Linked DNA regions of Homo sapiens: region 2 is linked to region 1. The links are contacts of gene promoters, found by promoter capture Hi-C in human tissues and cell types (Jung and others, 2019). All regions are on one chromosome and are shown on one strand. The core of a region is centred on a gene start or on the middle of the fragment in contact, and the rest is flanking DNA. Distances in the headings are between cores, read along the strand shown.

Region 1 (5,291 bases), core at 1,297-3,796:
ACTTTGGAAGGCCGGTGGGTGATCACTTGAGGCCGGGAGTTTGAGACCAGCATGGCCAACATGTCAAAACATCTCTACTAAAAATACAAAAATCAGCCGGTGGCCGGGTGGGGTGGCTGACATCAGTAATCGCAGCACTTTGGGAGGCCGAGGTGGGCAGATCACTTGAGTCCATGAGTTGGACACCAGCCTGGCCAACATGGTGAAACCCGGTCTCTACTAAAAATACAAAAATTAGCAGGGCATGGTGGCACATCCTTGTAATCCCAGCTACTTGGGAGGCTGAGGCAGGAGAATCGCTTGAACCCGGGAGGCGGCGGAGGTTGTGGTAAGCCAAGATCGCATCACTGCACTCCAGCCTGGGTGACAGAGTGAGTCTCTGTCTCAAAAAACAAAACAAAATTAAATTAAGTTAAAAAAAAAATTAGCCAGGTGTGGTGGCGCATGCTTGTAATCCTAGCTACTTGGTTGGCTGAGGCACGAGAATTGCTTGAGCCCAGTAGGCAGAGGTTGCAGTGAGTCGAGATTGTGCCACTGCACTCCACTCTAGGCAAGAGTGAGACTCTTGCCTCAAAATAAATAAATAAATAAATAAAGCTATTAAGCAATCCAGAGAGGATTTAAACTACATAGGCGGAAGGAGTATAGATTATATGCAAATACTACAACCAGTTATTTATTTATTTATTTATTTTTTGAGAGAGTGTCTCGCTCTGTCGCCCAGGCTGGAGTACAGTGGCACGAACTTGGCTCACTGCAACCTCCACCTCCCGAGTTCACGCCATTCTCCTGCCTCGGCCTCCCGAGTAGCTGGGACTACAGGAGCCTGCCACCATGCCCGGCTAATTTTTTATATTTTTAGTAGAGACGGGGTTTCACCGTGTTAGCCAGGATGGTCTCGATCTCCTGACCTCGTGATACGCCCGCCTCGGCCTCCCAAAGTGCAGGGATTACAGGCGTGAGCCACCGCGCCCGGCCTACTACAACCATTTTATATAAGGGACTTCAGCAGTCTGAGATTTAGGCATCTGTGGGAGTCCTGGAACCAACCCCTTAAGGACACTGAGAGACAACTATACCTGGTCTGTCAAACCGTTGGGGGGAGCTCGTCAATACCAAATGTAGTCCAACACATGCGGGATAAAACTCACCAAATAAAAATTCTAATTACTTTCTCTTGGTTCCCCACCATTACCTCCTTCTTTGCCAAAAGTGCCTGCTTTGCCTGGGTGGCTTTGAGGGCTTGATAAGCCTTCCTCTTTTTCAGGAGATTTTCTGGAACCAAAGGGATTTTTCTTTGCCTGATGCAGAAAATTGAGATCAGAGATAACATTTAGAAAAGAACACTTGGCCGGGCTCGGTGGCTCAAGCCTGTAATCCCAGCACTCTGGGAGGCCGAGGTGGGTGGATTACCTGAGGTCAGGAGTTCGAGACCAGCCTGACCAACATGGTGAAACCCCCGTTTCTACTAAAAATAAAAAATCAGCTGGGCGTGGTGGCGCACGCCTGTAATCCCAGCTACTCGGGAGACTGAGGCAGGAGAATCGCTTGAACCCGGGAGGCGGAGGTTGCACCGAGCCGAGATCCCGACACTGCGCTCCAGCCTGGGGGACAGAGCAAGACTCCGTCTCAAAACAAAAACAACAACAAAAAAGAAAACGAACATTCAATGGATTTCCAAACCAATTCAATATCCTGGGCTTTAGGGAACATTACTGTTTTCAAGTATCTGAAGAAAGATTCCCCTGAAACCTGCGGTTTCTGACTCCAGGCCTCATAAATCCATCCCTAATAGTCACTCATCCCCAAAGCCTCGGAAAATAATGAATCCTTTAGCCTCTGGGTTCGTATAAGTTAACAGGGTTTTCACGGCCACAGTTCTTCATAGGCACTAGCAGCGACGAATCTATGGGGTTGGGGCGGGGGCAGGCCTATCTGCAGAGTTAACACTTGTCGGGCTGGGTGAATTCAACTGTGGCACTCCAGCCCGCTGCCTGAAGTCAATCCTCGCCTCTCCAGATAACCCGAACTTGACCGCGGTCCCCTCCCTCCTCCGCCACAGCGCTACTCCTCCTCACCCCCACCCTTTGTAAACTGTGGCCTTTTCTATTCCTAGAGCCCACAGGAATCCGCCACCAAGGCATAAACACCGTGGATGGCACCGGATACTCAAGACCCCACTCCAGATATTCAAAGCCCCAAACACTCACTCTTGCTCCGCCATCTTTCTAGTGGTGCAGCTACTGATCATGCGCAACCCCACCACATGGGGAAGACAGCACACGCTCTGTTTACTTGACCATAGAGACGTCTGTTCTAGCTCACGCTGGAGGACCAGTCAGCGTTCACTTAGCCGCAGTGAGCCCTTGAGGTCCCGCTAACCCCGATTCCTGCCAAAAGTTGCACCGCTTCTTAGGGTTTTTAGAGCCTGTGTTATTTTCAAAACCCAGCCCTTTTCTTGTAAGTTACAGTTTCATCACAAGCGGCCTGGCTGTGGACAGCAAAGTGCTTCCCACAATGCACCTATGGCGTCCGCTCCTAGCTACGGCGCCGCACTTCCGGCGCGGCTGTGCTGCGTCTCTGGGGAGGAAGACAGGCAAACTCCGCGAAACATTTTCGCTCTGTGGAAAAACTTGGAGGCTATGGCTTTGGCTCTCACGTGTAGGTGGAAGTGTTTGTTGAGGACTTAGAGTGGTAAAGCAGGTAGCTGCAATTCCGTCTGCTTGGCCCCGTCGATGCGTCCTTGAACACGTTATTTAACCCCTCTATACTGCGGCTTCATTACCCATAAAATGGGTGTACAGTAATAATAGGTCTACCTAATGGCGTTACGAGGATTACAGGAGATTAGATAAAGCGTTTAGCAGTGTCTGTCAGCACTATGTTTGTTACTATTACTGCTGGACCGAAAACTACAACATGCTTCCTTCCCGTCTAAAACCGTTACACAGGCCGGGCGCGGTGGCTCACGCCTGTAATCCCAGCACTTTGGGAGGGAGGCCGAGACGGGAGGATCACCTGAGGTCAGGAGTTCGAGATCAGCCTGGCCAACACGGCGAAACCCCGTCTTGGGCGGAGGTTACAGTGAGCCGAGATCGCGCCACTGCCCACCAGCCTGGGCGACAGAGCAAGACTCCGTCTCAAAAAAACAAAAAGAAAAGAAAAGAAAAAAAAAGAATAAAAATAAAACCCTTATGCAGCTCTCATCGCCCGGAATTTGCGTTCTTCCCTCCCAGTCTATATAGAATCCTGAAAAACAGTAGGTCGGGCCGGTGGCTTTCACCTGTAATCCCAGCACTTTGGGAGGCCAAGGCAGGTGGATCACTTGAGGTCAGGAGTTGGAGACCAGCATGGCTAAGATGGTGAAACCCCGTCTCTACTAAAAATACAAAAAATTAGCTGGGCGTGGTGGCTCGCGCCTGAAGTCCCAGAAGGCGGAGGCTGCGTGAGCCGAGTTTGTGCCACTTGCACTCCAGCCTGGGCGACAGAGCGAGACAGTCTCAAAAAAAACAAGAAATAAATTTTTTTTAAAATTAAAAATCCTGAAAAACAACACAAGTCTTATCATCTCTGGAAACCTCCAGAGCAGCGCTTCTCAAGCATTAATAGTGAATAGGAGTCACCTGAAGATTTTACTAAAATACAGATTTTTATTCAGGAGGCCGGGTGGGGAGCTGATATTCTGCTTTTTTTTTTTTTTTTTTTTTGAGATGGCGTCTCGCTCTGTCGCCCAGGCTGGAGTGCAGTGGCGCGATCTTGGCTCACTGCAAGCTCCGCCTCCCGGGTTCACGCCATTCTCCTGCCTCAGCCTCCCGAGTAGCTGGGACTACAGGCGCCCGCCACCACGCCTGGCTAATTTTTTGAATTTTTAGTAGAGATTTCACCTTGTTAGCCAGGATGGTCTCGATCTCCTGACCTCGTGATCCGCCCGCCTCGGCCTCCCAAAGTGCTGGGATTACAGGCGTGAGCCACCGCACCTGGCCAATATTCTGCATTTTTAACAGGCTTCAGAGTGACGCTGGTGCTACTGGTCTATGGGCTGACTAGTAAGACTCTAGAGTAGTGTCTGATTTCCCTCAGGACATTATTATATTTTTAATATTTCTTCCACATGATACTAGGGGGGGCAGGAACCATGACTGCTTACTCATCACTGATCCTAAGGATCTAGCACCAATTTCTCGATTTTGGCACTATTGATACTGATACTGGTGGCAGCTAAAGGCCTCGTGTTGCCATGTAACTAGTCCAACCGGAAAGAGTGCCATGGGCACAGGTCACTTTCTGATGAGTAAGTGTCAGGACAACCCAGCATTCAAGGTCACACACTGAAAGAGGGAGGCTCATTCTCTTTCAGCACCTCACCATGTGTCTTTGTAAAGAGGCTAAACACAAGGGTCACCAAAGTGTAAGACATTCACTAAATAGTAAACAAAAAAGCAAAAAGTTAAATGTTTTGTGATTTTTCCTGTCTATGGATAAAAGGTAGAGTCTGTGGTACCAATAATATTAAAAGGAGGAGGAATTTTAGGGTTAACAATACTTCAGCCAGGCGGCGATGGCTCACGCCTGTAATCCCAGCACTTTGGGAGGCCGAGGCAGGCAGATCACTTGAGCTCAGGAGTTCAAGACCATCCTCAGCAACATGGCAAAACCCTGTCTCTACCAAAAATACAAAAATTAGCCGGGCATGGTGGCACATGTCTGTAGTCAGCTACTTGGGAGGCTGAGGCACGAGAATTGCTTGAACCTGGGAGGCGGAGGTTGCAGTGAGCCGAGATTATGCCACTGCACTCCAGCCTGGGCAACAGAGCAAGAATCTGTGTCAAAACAACCCCCAAAAAACCAGTACTCCAAGACTGAATGGGATTGAGGCCAGGATTCAGGAATGGCTTTCTACTGCCAGCAGATGGTGCTAGGAGAATACTTATTCTCAGTGCCAATCCCCTTACTCCACCAGACTGACAAAGGGAAAAAGAAAGGAGCCCCACCTCTTAAACAATTATTCACTAACTGAATATGTGTTTATTGAGCATTGAGCATGTGTCCTAGATTTTTTTTCAAAGTGAGGTTACTGAGGTCAGGTGTGGTGGCTCATGCCTGTAATCCCAGCACTTTGGGAGGCTGAGGCAGGCAGATCGCCCGAGGCCAGAAGTTCAAAACCAGCCTGGCCATCATGGTGAAACCCCATCTCTACTAAAAATACAAAAATTAGCTGGGTGTGGTGGCGCATACCTGTAATCCTAGCTACTTGGGAGGTTGAGGCACGAGAATCGGTGCACTCCAGCCTG
Region 2 (5,291 bases), core at 1,432-3,931, 620 kb after region 1:
CCTCTTCCACCATCAGCTGGCATCACTCCAGCCAAGGGACTCAGGATTGCAGGAAGGAAATCGCCCTGCAGCGGTTCTCTATCACCCATACCTGATGTCCTGGAACCTTTCGGGAAAAGCAAAGTGCATCCCCCTTGTGAGAGCTGCTCTCAGCCCAGGATCAAAGCCTTTATTGTCTGTGTAGGAGGAAGGAGAGAAGGTCCTGCCGCCTCAGCCCCAGCCACCACTGCCGCCTCCGCCTCCGCCTCCGCCGCCACCACAGCTCCCTCCCGAGGCAGAAAGCCTCACGCCTATGGTCATGCCCGTGTCTGTCCCTGTCAAGCTTCTCCCGCCCAAGCCCAGCTCTCAGGGGTTCACCAACAGCACCGTTGCCGCCCCCTCCGCCAGAGACAAGCCAGCCAGCTCGATGTCGGACGACGAGATGCCTGTGCTCGTGAGGATGACCCTCTCTCCCCCACACTCACCCCAAGGGGCTGCCCCCCGCACGCCTGCTGTGAGTTGCTGCTCTGCCCCACCTGCCTGGGTGGGGACATCCCTTTGCTTTCTTGGAGATGGGGCGGCCCTTCCAGAGTCACTGACCTGAGCTTGGATACGGCTTGGTCTCTCAGGGCTGAACCCGTGGCCACATTGGGAACCCTACCCTTGTTCACACTGCCTGCTCCCCATTAAATGCCAAACTAATGGCCTAGGTTAGATTCTGAGAGACCCGAAAGTGTTCCCAGGTTTAAACAGAGACGATCATTCAGCTGGGAGTCACTGAGACAATCATAGCCATTATTGAAATATGGAAGTCCTGTATCCCAGAAAGTAAGCAGCTGTTGCCCCAGGCCCTGGCCCCTTCCCCAGGATCTCCAGACCTCCCAAATCCACAACCAAAGAGGTAACCACTGGCGCAGCAGGCTTCCAGGCAATAGCCCTGGCATCCATTCTGACAAGCAGCCTTACCAGTTGCTTAATATTTTTGTCTGCTTAAATACCCTGGAGAACCTAATTCGTTAAAGTTCCCAAAGTAGTTCCACTGAGAGCCACCCACCCCTAATCTCAGGAAAGCAAAGAGATTTGTTTTTCTCACTCACTGTTCTCCTTTCTCCAATTTTAAGTGCTTCACTCAAACAGCTTAATTTGCCTCTGGGAAGGGTTTCCGTCTGTCTGTCTCTCTCTCTCTCTCTCTCTCTCTCTCTCTCTCTCTCTCTCTCTCTCTCTCTCTCTCTCTCTCTCTCTCTCTCTCTCTCTCTCTCTCTCTCTCTCTCTCTCTCTCTCTCTCTCTCTCTCTCTCTCTCTCTCTCCTCTCTCTCTCTCTCTCTCTCTCTCTCTCTCTGCCCCTAGGGAATTTGTGACCTGTGTGGTTGGCAATATCAAACCTACCCCCTCCCCACAAAGTGGCATGTTGGGTCATATTTGTCCTTAGGAATAGGTAGCTGCTGGGAATCCAGGAGGCATAAGGGTAGGCTGGGCCAGGGTAGAGGGAGAGAAGATAATGAATACAACTAGAAAAGTACAGAAAAAAACCTTTATGGTGTAATATCAAGTCCTCAAAAGAAGAGAAACTGATGGAGAACTGGGGGGAAGATTCTCATAAGCCGTCAGGACTTGGGGGTCAGCAACAGGCAGAGAGATGAAATGACACATCCAAGCTCCCTCTTTGCCCAGGGAAGTTCGTGCTTTGGCAGGAGAAACAGTGTTTCCTTGGGGAAATAGTTCCCTTGGGGAACTCTCAATTAAGAGTTCATAGTCACATGGGGGTCAGAGTCCCAGGCACACCCCCCCCACCCCTTCAAGATGGTAAGAGAAAGACAGGGGCAGACAAGAAATTGATGCTTTAAGTGTGACTGGATGAGAATACACCTGGGTAGCCAAAGTCATTATGGACTGGGGAGGGGCAAGGGAGTTTGCTCAGGAGATCACCATTAGAGTTCTGAGCAGGATTTTGAAGGAAGGGATGAACTTGGCTTAATGGAAGGGTGAGAGAGACCTCGTTGGTGGGGGCGGTAGGCTGAAGTGGAAGCATGTAGGTGGGACTGAATACATGGGAACAAGGCCCTGGCACTTAATGTAAAGAAATTAAAACATCCAGGAAGGAGCCCCGAGTGCCCATCTCAGTTTGGCTCCTAGCCAGCTGGGATGAAGACAGCTGAGACCTGCCCCCCACTCACAGCCTCAGTTTCCTCCCCTGACCTTGATAGGGTTGGACTCATCAGTGGTTCTCATCCTTCTCTGTGGGCAGCTTTTTAAAGTTTTCAGTGCTTGGCCTCACCCCCAAAGTGTCCAAATAGCTTGGTGGGGTGGAACACTGTAAGTGTTTCCTCTCAAGTGACAACCATATATGACATCCTGGGTGGCTTCTCTTGCCCAGTGGCTCAGAGCCTTGCCTGGAGGATCGGAAAATCCAGGTTTAGAGCTGGAGTAACAGGACAAGAAGCTGGAGGAGAGGGAGCCCAAAAGGGACCTCTGGCCCTGTGATCAGAGGTCTGGATTGCAGTGCTGCGTTGAGATCATATAAGGTCTGCATGTTCTTGGATGATCTTATCTGTTACCCGGGAACAGAGTGTATCTTCAGGGCTGCTCCCCTTGGGGGGGGCACAGGCCTCCTTCCCCCATTCTCCTCAGCCCCTCTCTCGCCTCAGCCTCAGGCGCTGAGGAGCCCTCTGGTGGAGAAAAGAGGCGGTTGAGCGCGCTGGCCTAAGGAGGGTCCCCTGGGGGTGAGGCGCGGGGATAGGGGAGGGGTGGGGGCGGGGGTAGTTAGGAACCTCACTCTGGAGCCGGGAGCCTGGGACCCTCTGCCCCCTCCTCCTTTCCCCACTCTCTGCCTCCCTAGACTCCTCTCCTAGAGGCCAGGATGGCACCATGGAAGGCAGAGAAGCTGAGGGAGAAACAGAAGGGGGCAGAGCCTGAAGCTCTGGAGGGAGAGGAGCCCAGAGCAGAGGAGCCCATGGGGCAGGTCACATGGCCTGGAGGCAGATGGTCACATGACCGTAGCCAGCCCTTCCCATCACCCCCTGCTGCTTCCTACCCAGGCGCCACCCTGGGCTCAGGAGTCTCCAGGACCTGCAGCTGTGACTGGCCCCTGGCCTGCAGGGCCTGAGAGGGCACCCCAGACTGCCCAGAACCTTCCCTCAGGTATCCCCGTGGCCCCTCCCAACCACACTGCCTCTGCAGCCACACCCAGCTCTCGACTTTTCTGGGCTGATGCTACCACACAACCCGAGTCTGTTTCTGTTTGGCTTTGGCATGCCCTGCTCATCTGTTTACGTGCCTATGTTTACTTATTAGTATATATGTATCCATGTGGCAGATCCTCCTTCCAGACTATGCTTGGTTCCGCTGCCATTAAAATAAACTAACTCTCCTGACAGGAAGCCAACCTCAGAGAAGAGTTTGCTACAAATAAGCTACGAGTTCTGGGAGCAATAGTGAGGGGTGGTGACGGGGGAGGTTAACCAGATCCGTTTTTAGGTGAGCACATGGAAGGGCCCTTAGAGGTCATCGAAGGCTCTCCCCCCCTGCTGAAAGTGACCCAGGAGAGCCCGGTGTGGGTCGCTGGCCTTAGGAACCTTGGCTAGGCTTGAACCCCCACTTCCTGCCTCACAGGTCTCGGTCCCAGCTTCCCTGAAGAGATTATTCTGTCCCCTTCTCAGAACATGTGGTATCTGTTCCTGATGTCCGTCCCTGGGGAGCAATGGGGGAATTAAAGAGCCCACTCAGCTGGATTCCACTCAAACAGATGGGAATGTAGTGATAAGCAATAAAGAATTTGAATTTATTACTTCTTGCCCACCCACTATTCCTACCACCCCCAGCTCTTTCAGAAATTAGGGATTTCTTCCAAAACCTTAGTTTTCTCCCTAGTCTAGCAACCAGAACTCGCTTTGCCTAAAATGGATGTGGTCAGAATGTGGGGGCGTTGGGGGTGGGGGGGTCAAGCAGAAGGGCTCTCTGCTTAGACAGTAGAAGGCCCCCTTCCCTGAACCTGTGGAAATGGCCTGCGGGGGAAGCTGAAGTATTCGAATCAGATCGTTGTTCCGGTTTTAGGAAATCCCCAGGAAGCATCAGCCGAGTGTGCCCAAAGCCGAGGAGCCCCTCAAGACCGTGCAGGAGAAGAAAAAGTTCCGGCACCGGCCGGAACCTCTCTTCATCCCGCCGCCGCCCTCCTACAACCCGAACCCCGCTGCCTCCTACTCGGGCGCCACCCTGTACCAGAGCCAGCTGCGCTCCCCGCGCGTCCTCGGGGACCACCTGCTCCTGGACCCCACCCACGAGCTGCCCCCTTACACGCCCCCACCCATGCTGAGCCCGGTGCGCCAGGGCTCGGGGCTCTTCAGCAATGTCCTCATCTCCGGCCACGGCCCTGGCGCCCACCCGCAGCTGCCCCTGACGCCCCTGACGCCCACACCACGGGTGCTGCTGTGTCGCTCCAGTGAGTCACCCCTTTAGCGTCCTCCTGGGCTCTGGGTGCTGGGTAAAGTCCTGGGACATCTCGTTTTCTTTAGCTTTCTCATTTATCCCACAGACTTTTGCGGAGTATTGGCTGTATGTAGCACGCGCTGCTGGGTGTTAAGAAAGACTTGGAATACATAGCCCTTATCCTCAAGGGAATCGCAGTCTAATTGGGAGACAGATGCATAAAGTGATCACTACAGTCTCTGGGATAAGGAAACAGTTGAAATGTTCACCCACTTTTTAAGGCTGCCAGCAATGATCGTGCAAGAGAGAAAAAATGAGACCGGGCGCGGTGGCTCACACCTGTAATCCCAGCGTTTTCGGAGGTCGAGGCGGGTGGATCACTTGAGGCCGGGAGTTGGACACCAGCCTGGCCAACATGGTGAAACCCCGTCTCTACTAAAAATACAAAAATTAGCCGGGCATGGTGGCACGCACCTGTAATCCCAGCTACTTGGGAAGCTGAGGCAGGAGAATCGCTTAAACCTGGGAGGCAGAGGTTGCAGTGAGCCAAGATCATGCCACTGCACTCTAGCCTGGGGGATGAGAGTGAAACTCCGTCTCAAAAAAAAAAATAACGGGATGTGGTAGCAGGCACCTGTAGTTCCAGCTACTCAGGAGACTGAGGCAGGAGAATCTCTTGAACCCGGGAAGCGGAGGCTGCAGTGAGCCGACATCGCGCCACAGCACTCCCGCCTGGGCGAAGGAGCGAGACTCCGTCTCAAAAAAAAGAAAATGTACTCAGTAGATGTACAAATAAGATTAGGTATTACATGCAAGATCAAGCCTTGACATTTTAGCATGCTTTATAAAAATCAAGCATAGAGAGGCTAGGATCTCTTTCTGGAGCAAGA

Evidence for each region. Contacts are between HindIII fragments. The study calls those that stand out against the background at their distance.
Region 2: a fragment that was not itself captured here is called in contact with the fragment with the promoter of RPL7L1 in region 1 in 1 of the 25 tissues and cell types used here (lymphoblastoid cells).

What each region holds. Positions count from the first base shown.
Region 1 is chr6:42,876,871-42,882,161 of GRCh38, reverse strand. It overlaps RPL7L1 (ribosomal protein L7 like 1), which reads right to left and starts at 2,546. Exons shown (of 6, transcript NM_001366481.3): 1 at 2,211-2,546; 2 at 1,196-1,301. The coding sequence starts at 2,251. RefSeq lists enhancers at 2,285-2,344, 1,620-2,576, 2,365-2,834, 2,577-3,534. The HindIII fragment of the contact is 12,927 bases long and covers 1-5,291 here.
Region 2 is chr6:42,258,462-42,263,752 of GRCh38, reverse strand. TRERF1 (transcriptional regulating factor 1) reads left to right here. Exons shown (of 18, transcript NM_001395490.1): 8 at 185-433; 9 at 4,030-4,414. Among named protein-coding and RNA genes, the nearest start is that of MRPS10, 43 kb to the right of the region's middle. RefSeq lists enhancers at 2,541-2,590, 2,528-3,048, 3,049-3,569. The HindIII fragment of the contact is 5,320 bases long and covers 22-5,291 here.